Regions from separate parts of the Homo sapiens genome. Here region 2 is linked to region 1. The links are contacts of gene promoters, found by promoter capture Hi-C in blood cells and fetal thymus (Javierre and others, 2016). All regions are on one chromosome and are shown on one strand. The core of a region is centred on a gene start or on the middle of the fragment in contact, and the rest is flanking DNA. Distances in the headings are between cores, read along the strand shown.

Region 1 (6,186 bases), core at 1,505-4,004:
CATTCCATTATGAGTATCTCTCCTAGGACCCCAAATTCATCCCTGCTGCATCTATCCCCTGTTCATCCTCCTCTCCATCTTCTCATTTGAAAGAATGCAACAGGGCCTGGTGACACTAATGCCCCCTCTCTCCTTATGGTCCCATTGGTCATTGTGTTCTCCCACAGCAACAACAGGCAGGTGGGCAAGTATCTAAGCTCTGAGCCTGCCATGCAAGGAACCATACTCTCTTGTAAGGAAACTCTCCTGGAAGACAACAGACCATGGCTCCCAAACACAACCAAGGGTCTTGGTTCATACTTCACCCTTGTGTCCTCAACACCAAGGAGCCACCACTTCACATTCTTGTCTCCATGTGCACAATACTCTACCACACTTCTCTCACAGTGTCACTCCCACAGCCACAGCTTACTTCCTGCCTCATACCATGAGCATCTCCTTGGCCTCCCAACTGGTTACTCAGCATATGGGGCCCAGAGAGTGGCTGGCAAATTCAAATACGGTTCAGTACTATCCCAGATCTCTAACTGCACCTAAAGTTAGGGGCAGCCTCAAGTCATACCATGAAGGCCTTTCTACCTGACTATTCCTTGCTTCAACCTCACCCATCAAGAATCACCTGTGGATCTCAGATAACCAAGGCCTCTTCCACTTCTGGGCTGTGATTGCTGTCCCCCAACCAGTCACAGCCTTCCTCTCTCCAACTACCACTAATTCAAGGTCCAACCCCAGTGGCTCTCTACCCCGGGCCCATCGAGTCCCACAGATGGCCAATTATGCCCCTAAGATAACGTGACAGCCTGACTGAAACTTCCCAGATCCCACCAAGAGTTAATATAAAACCCTGGTCAGTCTGCAGAGAGGTGAATACGCACCAGTCCTAGCATCATCCTGTCTAACTCCTATGCCTCTACATTCATCTCATGTCTACTCACCCCTGAGAAGCCTTGGCCACATGCTAGATCATAATCTCTGTACGACCCTCACCGTGAACACTTCTGTCCAAGACCTGTGTTGCAACACCTCACACAACCAGGGGCTCACACAGGAGACCTGTCCTTGACCTTCCCCTCCCCTTCCTTGACAACTATTATTATCATTGTGAGCAGGCTTCCCCTCTACTAAATGTGATCCACAGCTCCACCCCGGCCCACAGATTGTCCACTACCTTTTGGAAAAGTCTCCATTCTGAATCTCTCCTCACTGTTCCTGACCTACAGTTCCAGCAGCCCATGAACCATTCTCTGAAAGCTCTCATACTCTTAGCAGGTCAAAAATAAAACTTCTGATATCCCAAATGAAAACTACTCCTACTATGTACTTCCCCATCTTAGTTGATGGAGCTTCCACACTTCTAACTGCCAAAATAAAACCTTTCAGTCATCCCTGACTCCACTCTCTTTCTCAAAACTAAAAATTCAGGCAGCCCTACTTAAAAAATGAATCCAGAATCCAACTGCTTCTCGCATCTTCACAGCCACCATTTTGGCCTATCACATTCTATCACATTCACCTGGCCTATCCCAGTAGTCTCCTCCCAGGTCTCCCCACCTCATCCTTCAGTTGGCTTCCCATGCTGCAGCCACAGGGAGCCTAATAAGACCAGAACCAGATCACCTCCCTCTTCCACTCCAAACCTCCCACTGTTACTATTAAGTAACGAATAGACAACTCAACTTCTCAGGGAACCATTCCGGGTCTGACTTCTACTACACTGCTCCCTGTTCTCATGAAAAGAAAATAATTGTAGGTTCCTGAACTATCTTAGCCTCCTCTCCAAACTTAGCATATACTGGTAACTTTGCCTTGGACAACCTTCTACATCTCCTTTCCCCCGGCTGCCAACAGCTTCATATAATCTAACCTGGACTTAAGACTCTGGGCTTTGTATTTGCTCAAAGTCTCAGGGCCCAAGGCTAGACGAGTGGCGAGGCTCAGGTCGCCCAATGACCCTGGTCCAGTTTTGGAGCCAGGTGGCCTGGGCTGGCTGCACTATCTCCGCACCTCAGTTCTCAGTGCTGACTTTACCAGCTGCGTGAGCTTGGACAAGAACTCAGTCTTCCTATGCCTAACTACTATTACCTCTCTTCAGCCTGTTCTTCCCCTGAGCAACTTTTGGATAGCTTTAGGAAATCCTAGCCCAGTGTCCCTATCTGTTCACAAATCTCGAAGGCTGCCAGTGTCCTCAGAATCGTCAAATTCGTCAGGTGCAACTCTGCCTCACTCTATGTTCCTGCAGACCCGAGACGGACCCCAGGCTCCTGAATCCCCCCCAGCTTAGTCGCAGCTCCAAGTTCTGCACGCGCCAGTCAACTGCCCGTCACATTTCCGTACACACTGGGCGTCACAAACGGGTCCAATCCACAAGCGCCTTCTTGTCCAGGGTACTGGGGCCTGGGCTGCAGGGCTGTGAGCAGGCATCCCTCACTGGGCCTTAAGGCTTCTGCTGGGGGAGGTAGGCGAGACCCGGAGGACGCACAACTCACCTGAGCCGAGTCCCTCAGCGCGACTGCCGCCATTGAGCTCCGTGGACTAGGCGGGGAGCGGCGGCCGACCGGGGCGGGCATTCGAACACAACAGTCCCTATCCCGGGCCTGGCGCAGCTCACCCGAGGTGGTGTCGCAGAACCTCTGGCCCACTTTCGCGACTTCTCTGTCCCGTCCCTCAGTCGCGACCTCCACTGCAGAAACTGGCGGGCTGGACAAACAGGACAGAGGCCAAAATGACCGCCACGAGGAGGACGCCGGAAGTTCCGGCCCGTCGCGCTGCGCGTGCGCGGAAGTGTTGCTATCCTGGGCTGTCATTGGCTCAACTCCGCCGCCGTTTTGCGCTCTGCACTCTGGATAATGTAGTTTCCAAAACTCCACGGAGCTCTTCGGAGTGTGTCCACTGCTTTGACCTCTGCGAACTTGTATTCTGAGGTGCTGTGCCCCGTGCAGGGAAATGGCGACTTCGGCCTCTAGGGGAGAAGGAGGTATTTACTCCTTCTTAAAGGGGCTTTTCCCAGATTTCTGGGAAGTGTTTTCCGTAACTGATCACTTAAGTGTTTAGAGACATTATTTCAGACTCCACGAAGCTCAGGGTGCCCCTAGAGGCAAACAAATATTATTTCAGGGGGTTGGGCGCGGTGGCTCACGCCTGTAATCCCAGCACTTTAGAAGGCCGAGGCGGGCGGATCACCTGAGGTCAGAAGTTCGAGACCAGGCTGGCCAACATGGCGGAACCCCATCTCTACTAAAAATACAAAAATTAGTCGGGCGGGCCGGGCGCAGTGGTTCACGCCTGTAATCCCAGCACTTTGGGAGGCCAAGGTGGGTGGATCACGCGATCAGGAGTTCGAGACCAGCCTGGCCAACATGGTGAAACCCTGTCTCTACTAAAAATACAAAAATTAGCCGGGCATGGTGGCGAGCGCCTGTAATCCCAGTACTTGGGAGGCTGAGGCAGGAGAATCGTTTGAACCTGGGAGGCAGAGGTTGCAGTGAGTCGAGATCACGCCATTGCACTCCAGCCTGGGCGACAGGGGGAGACTCCGTCTCCAAAAAAAAAAAAAGAAAAAAAAAATTTGGATTTTGGAGCATTTTGGATTTTAGATTTTTGGCTCAGGGATATTCAACCTGTATTTTGTTCTCATTAAATAGGTTCCTCTTTCACTTTGTTATTGTTTGATATACTAAAGTTTTAATTTTCATGAAGTCTAATTGGTCTATTTTTCTTTTGTCACATGTGTATTTGGTGTCAAATCCAAGAAATTATGGCCAAATTCAATGTCATAAAACTTTCACCCTATATTTTCTTTTAAGTGTTTTATAGTTTTGGGTCTTATGTTTAGGTTTTTAGTCCATTTTGAGTTCATTTGTGTTTTTGGTGTTAGGTAAGGGTTCACCTTCATTCCTTAGCATGTGAATATTTCATTTTCCCAGCATCATTTGCTGAAAAGATCATCGTTTCCCCATTGAGTGGTCTTGGTAGCCTTGTTGAGATCATTTGACCATATACATTACTATTGCAAATGATATTGTTTTCTTAATTTCCTTTTCAGATTTTTCATTGTTAGTGTATGGAAGGGCATATGAGTTTTACATGTTGACTTTTGCATGTTGACTTTGAATTCAGCTACACAGGTGAATTTGTTTATCAGTTCTTTTTTTTTTTTTTTTTCCCAGACGGAGTCTCACTCTGTTGCCCAGGCTAGAGTGCAATGGCTTGATCTTGGCTCACCACAAGTTCCACCTCCCAGGTTCAAGCAATTCTTCTGCCTCAGCCTCCCAAGTGGCTGGCACTACAGGCGCCAGCACCATGCCCGGCTAATTTCTGTATTTTCAGTAGAGCGAGGGTTTTACCATGTTGGCCAGGCTGGTCTTGAACTCCTGACCTCAGGTGAGCCACTGCGCCTGGGCTTTTTTGTTTTTGTTCTTGAGACAGTGTCTTGCTCTGTCTCCCAGGGTGGAGTGCAGTGGCGCGATCTCAGCTCACTGCAACCTCTGCCTCCCGGGTTCAAGCGATTCTCCTGCCTCAGCCTCCTGAGTAGCTGGGGTTACAAGCATACACCACCATGCCCAGCTAATTTTTGTATGTTTAAATTAATCAAAGTTGCCAGCAAAAAAAAAAAAAAATATTAATTCCTCCCTTAGAAGTTACAATAAACATCTTTTTAAAATTTTTTTGAGCCTGTCACCCAGGCTGGAGTGCGGTGGTCTGTTCTCAGCTCACTGCAACCTCTGCCTCCCAGGTTCAAGTGATCCTCTCATCTCAGCCTCCCAAATAGCTGGGATTACAGGCGCATGTCGCCAAACCTAGCTAATTGTTTTTTTGTATTTTTTGTACAGATGAGGTTTTGCCTTGGTGCTCAGGCTGGTCTCAAACTCCTGGACTCAAGTGATCTGCCCGCCTCAGCCTGACAAAGTGCTGGGATTACAGGCATGAGACACTGTGCCCAGCCTAAACATCTTTAATCTAATTCGACCTTCAAATAACTACTGGATTGCTTCACATGTAATGCAGGGACCCTGTAACAGGACCTTTGGGGATGAATTCTTTAGTATTTGTGTGAGAAAAGCTTTATTCTCCTCCACCTTTGAAAGATAACATTGCTGGATATAGATGTTAGGGTGGGGTTTTATTTTTTGTACTAAATTTTGAACTTTCACTCCATTCCCTTCTTGATTATCTGGTTTCTGACAAGAATTCTACTCTAAATCTCATCCTTGTTCCTCAGCAGGTAAAGTGCCCTCTCCCACCTCCATCTTCTTTCAAGAATTTCTCTATCTTTGGCCTTCTGTAGTTTGAATATGATGTACCTAGTTGTAGGTTTTTGGTATTTACACTGCTTCCTCTTCTCTGAGATTTCTGGATCTGTGGTTTGGTGTCTATGATTAATTTTGGACCTCCAAGTGGAGGTTGCAGTGAGCCAAGATCACACCACGGCACTCCAGTCTGAGCGACAGATCAAGACTCTGACTCAGAAAAAAAAAAAAAAGCCGGGCACGGTCACTCACGCTTGTAATCCCAGCACTTTGGGAGGCCGAACCACTGCGGCCGGCCCCATCTCTTTTTTTAAAAAAGGATATCAACATTATGGATTCATTCATTTATTCAACAGAAATTTATTGGTTCTTGGAAATGTTCCACTTTCCCAACCACTTGGAATACTTTAGTGAACAAAACTGACAAATTCCATGCTCTCCTTAGCCTTACATTTTAATGAAGCAAGACAATAAATTGAAAGCATAATCAGGAGATTATATCTTATATCCTAAGTAGATAAATACTATAGGAATATACATACTTGCATACATATTTATACACATTATCAGACCAGCAGCTTAGGAAGCTTCTGGTGTGGAGGGAACACTTGGCAGGGTAATTTTCTCATGAGTCCTCATATGGCGGTGGTATGTGGATGACTGGCGGTAGCTTGTCTTACAAAAGGGACATGTATAAGGCTTTTCTCCTGTGTGGATTCTCTCATGAGACCGCAGGTTGGTTTTGTGGCTGAAGGACTTTTTACACATGCTGCATGTGAAAGGCTTCTTTCCTGTGTGAATTATCTGATGCACCCGTAGGTCTGATATCTGGAAGAAGCCTTTTTGACACTCGGGACAAACAAATGGCCTCTCATTCCTGTGTCTTCTCTGGTGAGCTAATAAGTGACAGAGATACTTAAAGACCTTGGGGCATTCTTCA
Region 2 (6,673 bases), core at 815-3,314, 490 kb before region 1:
ACACAGGTCAACAGAAAATATATTTCCAAAACCCTGTACCACTTCCTGGTTAATATCTCCCAGAGTTAACCACTATCCTGATTATCATCATAAGTTTTTTTTCTGTCCTCAAACTTCATATAAATGGAATCATATAGTCTATGGTTTTCTGTGTCAACATAATGTGTTAGAGATTCATCCAAGTTGCTGCATGTATCAGTAGTTAATGTTTGGTAAATTGCTGAGTAGTATTCCACTATGGATGTACCACATTTTGTTTATACATTTTATTATTGATGGACTGCTGGGCTGTATCCAGTTTTGGCCCCTTATGACTAATGCTTCTATGAGTGTCCTTTTAGATGTCTTTTGGGGACATGGCTCATACTTCCATTGTAAGAAATTACTATTATGTTCTCTTGGGCAGTTTTTCCAGAAAGAATACAAATTTTGAATGCTAACAGGTCTGAAAATGCTTACTCTCTCCTCATATGTGTGAATGATATATTTGCTGAGCATCAAATCCTGAAATCAGAGTCTTTGTGTTTCTGGAATCTTCACTTATCTTCTAGTGTCCAGGGTTTCAGAAGAGAAACCAATGCTGCTTATACATACCCTGTGCTCTTTGTAAGGGATTTGCAATGAAACTTGTGAAGTTTGCACTAGTTTTGGAGTATGGGTACTTCACCAGACTATGATGTCTTTTTAACCCTGCCAAGACATTGGACATGCCCTTAGAAATGTGAAGATACGTACAACTCATTTTTTTTATTTTTTTGAGATGGAGTTTTGCTCTTGTCACCCAGGCTGGAGTGCAATGGCACAACCTTGGCTCACTGCAACCTCTACCTCCCGGGATCAACTGATTCTCCTGCCTTAGCCTCCCAAGTAGCTGGGATTACAGGCATGTGCCACCACACTCAGCTAATTTTTCTATTTTTACTAGAGACAGGGTTTCACCATGTTGGCCAGGCTTGTCTCAAACTCCTGACCTCAGGTGATCCTCCTGCCTCGGCCTCCCAAAATGCTGGGATTACAGGTGTGAGTCACCGTGCCTGGCCAACATACAACTCTTTATGATGCTTCTATTCAAGTAGATAGAAGAATGCTATTGGCAAAGTATTAGCAAGTTAGTATAAAGCTCTCTGATTTGTTTGGAGTGATAATATTTGGATTATGCAGAAAAAAATTGATAGCATATCCTTCAGCCCTCATCTAGGACTATCATAAAATTATACACATAAGGATCCCCATGATGCTAAAAGGTGTATGATTCCTGCACCATTCTTCAAGGTTGACGGTTCTTTTATTCATACGTGATGTAGAAAAATAGATACGCTGTTGCCATATGATTCCTGCACCATTCTTCAAGGTTGACGGTTCTTTTATTCATACGTGATGTAGAAAAACAGATACGCTGTTGCCACTGATAACATTTATGGGCAACCCGCTTGGGTCCCCTTCCACACTGTGGAAGCTTTGTTCTTTCGCTCTTTGCAATAAATCTTACTGTTGCTCACTCTTTAAAAAAAAAAAAATTTACATGTGATTACCTATGACAACCATTTCTCTTCTTTTCTTTTCTTTTAGACAGGGTCTCGTTTAGTCACCCAGGCTGGAGTGCAGTGGTACCATCTCAGCTCACTGTAGCCTTGACCCCCTCAAGCAGTCCTCACTTCCCAAGTAGCTGGGACTACAGGAATGCACCACCACGCACAGCTAATTTTTGTATTTTTATTAGAGACGGGGTTTCTCCATGTTGCACAGGCTGGTCTTGGACTCCTGAGCTCAAGTGATCCACCTGCCTTGCCCTCCAAAAGTGCTGGGATTACAGGTGTGAGCCTCTGTGCCCAGCCATGATTATCTATGGCAACCATTTTTTTTTTTTTTTTTGAGATGGAGTTTTGCTCTGTTGCCCGGGCTGGAGGGCAGTGGTGTGATCTTGGTTCACTGCAACCTCCACCTCCTGGGTTCAGCTATTCTCCTGCCTCAGCCTCCTGTGTAGCTGGGATTACAGGCATATGGGAGACATTTCTTTTTCTTTTTCTTTTTTTCTTGTTTTTTTTGAGACGGAGTCTTGCTCTGTCACCCAGGCTGGAGTGCAGTGGCACGATCTCGGCTTACAGCAAGCTCTGCCTCCTGGGTTCACACCATTCTCCTGCCTCAGCCTCCTGAGTAGCTGGGACTCCAGGCGCCCACCACCACACCCAGCTAATTTTTTTTTTTTGTATTTTTAGTAGAGACGGGGTTTCACGGTGCTAGCCAGGATGGTCTTGATCTCCTGACCTCGTGATCCACCCGCCTCGGACTCCCAAAGTGCTGGGATTACAGGCGTGAGCCACTGTGCCCAGCCGCATATGGCCAGACATTTCTATGAGACATTGTTCATCAGGCCTAGACCCTGAGTCCCCATTAAATGGTGTTTCTATGGCAAATTAGGGACATATGTAGAATAGAACTGCTTATCCCTGCTGATCTGTGGCTGCAGGGAGTCACAAGTTTGCAGTCTTGTTACATTCAGATACTTAAGAGTTAAAAAATAACTGGTGGCTTTTGCCTCCTTTATCCCTGATGTCAAATAAAATGGAATTCCAACCAATAGCTTTTCCACATTGATCTTTTTTCAATGAGTTTTTCTAATTTGTTTGAATTTCCTGGTGTCAAATAAGGTAAAAGCCATGGTTGAAAGCTTGCCAATACTGACTGCATTCATAGTGTTCTCCAGTATGAGTCCTCTTACGTTCAATAATATGAGAACAACTCCTGAATGCTCTTCCACGCAAATTACATGTATGGGGTTTTCCTCAGTATGAGTCCTCTGATGTCACATCATAAGGGCTAGGCTACGTCTGAAGCCTTTCCCACGATGACTGTATCCATCACTTTGCTCTCCAGTGTGTCTTCTGTGATTTTTGAGTAGTGGAGGAGCAAAGTGTAAAACCTTTCCCTGAATGATTCCCTTCATAAGGTGTCTCTATAGATTCTTAGCTATAGGGTAAAAGTGTTCACTTCTTTAGAAGAATTTCCTAAATTCACTGCAAATATATAATTTCCCACAAGTATAAATTGTCTCATATTGAATAAGGTATAATTTGTGTCTACAGCCTTTGCTACAGCGATTACATTTATAGTATTGTTCTCCTGTATAAGTTCTGAAACATACTGAAAGAAATATTTCTTAATAAAGACTCTCCAACACTCAACACATTTGTAAGGTCTATTTCCTGAGAGAGTTTGCTCATACATCAGTGGGGTTGAGCTCTGTTTAAAGACTTCTTTACACATACTACATTTATATGGTCTCTCTCCAGTATGACTTCTCTGATGTCAGAAAGTATTTACCATAAACAGGGATTTCTCACATTCAGAACATCTGGAGGGTTTGTCAACTGTGTGAGTGCTCTCAAAACAAAGATGAGAGGAGCTCTGAATACACTTTTCCACATTCCTTACATTCAACTCAACTCTCTCTAACATGAATTCGCTTACATTGACTGAGACTTGTGCTACACTTAAAAAATTTACTACGTATATTTCATATATAAGGCTTTTCTACACTGAACTGTTTGCAAGTCTAAGAAGTTGAGTGTTTTGACCAAAAGCATTCCCAAAATCATAATTTTCAGGGGTTTTTCCCTGTGCATTTATGGTTTATTAAATCTGAATGTTGTTTTACAATGAGTCATGTATGTAGTGGTATTCATTGATAAGAATATTGTTTAGTGGGCCAGGCACGGTGGCTCACGCCTGTAGTCCCAACATTTTGAGAGGCCAACGTGGGTGGATCACAAGGTCAGGAGTTCAAGACCAGCCTGGCCAAGATGGCGACACCCCTGTCTCTACTAAAAATACAAAAATTAGCCAGGTGTGGTGGCGGGTGCCTGAATCCCAGCTACTTGAGAGGCCGAGGCAGAGAATTGCTTGAACCCAGGAGGTGAAGGTCGCAGTGAGCCAAGATCATGCCATTGCACTCCAGCCTGGGTGACAGAATGAGACTCTGTCTCAAAAAACAAAAACAAGGCCAGGCGCGGTGGCTCATGCCTGTAATGGCAGCACTTTGGGAGGCCAAGGAGGGTGGATCATGAGGTCAGGAGATCGAGACCATCCTGACTAACACGGTGAAACCCCGTCTCTACTAAAAATACAAAAAATTAGCTGGGTGTGGTGGCGCGCGCTTGTAGTCCCAGCTACTCTGGAAGCTGAGGCAGGAGAATGGCATGAACCCGGGAGGCAGAGCTCGCAGTGACCTGAGATCCTGCCACTGCACTCCAGCCTGGGTGACAGAGCAAGACTCTGTCTCAAAAACAAAACAAAACAAAACAAAAAAGAATATTGTTTAGTGGAAGAAGGCTTGAATTCTACTTAACATTAGCTGTGCATTTCTTATTCTTGCAACCTCATTCCTGAATCAGTGTTCCTCAAGCATCATTTGTTTGACTCATCTCTCCTGGTCCTCCTTCTGCTTCTCTAAGTGGACCTTACAGTCCTGGTTTCTTCCAAATGTGAAGAAATGAAGCTCATTCTTTGTGAATCTTTCCACTTTCAGGATGGCATTTTTGTTGTTGTTGTTTTTATTTTGTTTTGTTTTGTTTTGAGACGGAGTCGTCCTCTGTCACCCAGGCTGGAGGGCAGTGGCGCAGTCTCGGCTTACTGCAACCTCTGCCTCCTGGGTTCAAACAATTCTCCTGCCTTAGCCTCCCAGGTAGCTGGGATTACAGGTACACGCCACCATGCCCAGCCAATTTTTGTATTTTTTTTTTAGTAGAGACGGGGTTTCACCGTGTTGGCCAAGCTGGTCTCAAACTCCTGACCTTGTGATCCACCCACCTCAGTCTCCCAAAGTGCTCGGATTTCAGGCATGAGCCACCACGCCTGGCCTGGCATATGGTTTTCAGACAAATGTCTTCCTTCCTGGTTATCTCTTTGCTTTTGATGATAGTTTCACAATCCAAAAAAAAAAAAAAACCAGATACATTTGTACATCCCCTACAGTTGTTCACTGAATAAATTATGGCTTGTTCAATCAATTAAAAAACCATAATTTTAAGAGCTGGAGAGAAAATGCTGGTATTAAGCACATCGAAAGCATGTTGATTTGTTTCCAAATCTGTCTTGCCAGGAGCGACTGAGCAAATAAGAATAAGCCCAGTCTCTCCAGGTGGCTGATAGGAAAATAGATCAATCTCTGCTAGTAGTCATTTCTCACTCTCTTTTCTTTTTCTTTCTTTCTTTTTTTTTTTTTTTCTTTTGAGACGGAGTCTCGCTCTGTCGCCCAGGCTGGAGTGCAGTGGCACGATCTTGGCTCACTGCAAGCTCTGCCTCCTGGGTTCACGCCATTCTCCTGCCTCAGCCTCCTGAGTAGCTGGGACTACAGGCGCCCGCCACCATGCCCAGCTAATTTTTTGTATTTTTAGTAGAGACGGGATTTCACCATGTTAGCCAGGATGGTCTCGATCTCCCAACCTCGTGATCCACCAGCCTCAGCGTCCCAAAGTGCTGGGATTACAGGCGTGAGCCACCGCGCCCAGTCTCCTCACGCTGTTTTCAAGATGCTCTTCTGGACCCCAGTGCTTTGGGGGCTTGTCCTGAGCCCTCTTCTCTCATCCACCAGTATGGTCTGTTTTATTCTGCTGGCTTCAAACACCATCTGAACATTGATGAATCACAATTTGTAGCTTCATTCCAGATTCTTTTCTGAGCATGGACATATTTCACCATATTCATACTGCCTGCTGGGAGTGTCTATTCATTTTACAACCATACCTTGTCAGTACTGAGTTCTACTCTCATGCTCTACCTCCTCTTCTCCCAGGTTTCTCCTGTCCATGGATTGCATCACAGTTGCTCATGCCAGTAGCCATGGACCCTTCCACTTCCATTTTGAATCAATCACCAAATTCTGAGCCCACCTTAAACATACATTGAAATGATCCCCTTTTTACTTCCATTGACTCATCCGGTTCCAAGTCATGACACTTCTTGACTGAACTACACAGTAGTGCTTTCATCATCATCTCCTCTTCTGTTCATGACACCATCCCAACACTCAACCAGTGCAACCGTTCAAACATGGAAATCAGGCCAGGTGTGGTGGCTCACCCTTGTAATACCAGCACTTTGGGAGGCCAAGGCAGGAAGATCACTTGAGTTCAGAAGTTCGAGACCAGCCTGGACAACACAGTGAGACCCCCGTCTCTACAAAAAAAGTTTTTTTTTAATTAGCCGGGTGTGGTGGTGTGCACTTATGATTTCGGCTACTTGGAAGGCTGAGGTGGGGGGATTTCTTGAGCCCAGGATTCCAAGGTTGCAGCAAGCTATGATTGCACCACTGCACACCAGCCTGGGTGACACAGCAAGACCCTGTCTCTTTTATTTATTTATTTATTTTTTTTATTATTTTTATTTATATATACTTTAAGTTTTAGGGTACATGTGCACAACGTGCAGGTTAGTTACATATGTACACATGTGCCACGTTGGTGTGCTGCACCCATTAACTTGTCATTTAACATTAGGTATATCTCCTAATGCTATCCCTCCCCCCTCTCCCGACCCTGTCTCTCTTAAAATGTAAACTAGATCATTTAATTCTCTTGCTTAAATTCAACGAGTGACTTCTCATTGCTCTCAAATATTTATGCTTTTTTGTAGAACATCCACATTCACTATGCTGATTGCTACATAAAGGCAGATT

What was found. Contacts are between HindIII fragments. The CHiCAGO score rates a contact against its expected background, and 5 or more counts as called.
Region 2: a fragment that was not itself captured here is called in contact with the fragment with the promoter of ZNF551 in region 1 in 1 of 17 cell types (monocytes); the score reaches 5.5 in monocytes.

Annotation. Positions count from the first base shown.
Region 1 is chr19:57,678,545-57,684,730 of GRCh38, reverse strand. ZNF551 (zinc finger protein 551) reads right to left here and starts at 2,754. Exons shown (of 3, transcript NM_138347.5): 1 at 2,487-2,754. The coding sequence starts at 2,567. ZSCAN4 (zinc finger and SCAN domain containing 4) reads right to left here. Exons shown (of 5, transcript NM_152677.4): 5 at 5,579-6,186. The coding sequence ends at 5,826. RefSeq lists a silencer at 2,314-2,383 and an enhancer at 2,439-3,062. The HindIII fragment of the contact is 7,295 bases long and covers 1-5,061 here.
Region 2 is chr19:58,163,025-58,169,697 of GRCh38, reverse strand. The region is part of intron 1 of LOC124904784 (a long non-coding RNA gene); the gene reads right to left. Among named protein-coding and RNA genes, the nearest start is that of ZNF329, 16 kb to the right of the region's middle. The HindIII fragment of the contact is 1,212 bases long and covers 1,459-2,670 here.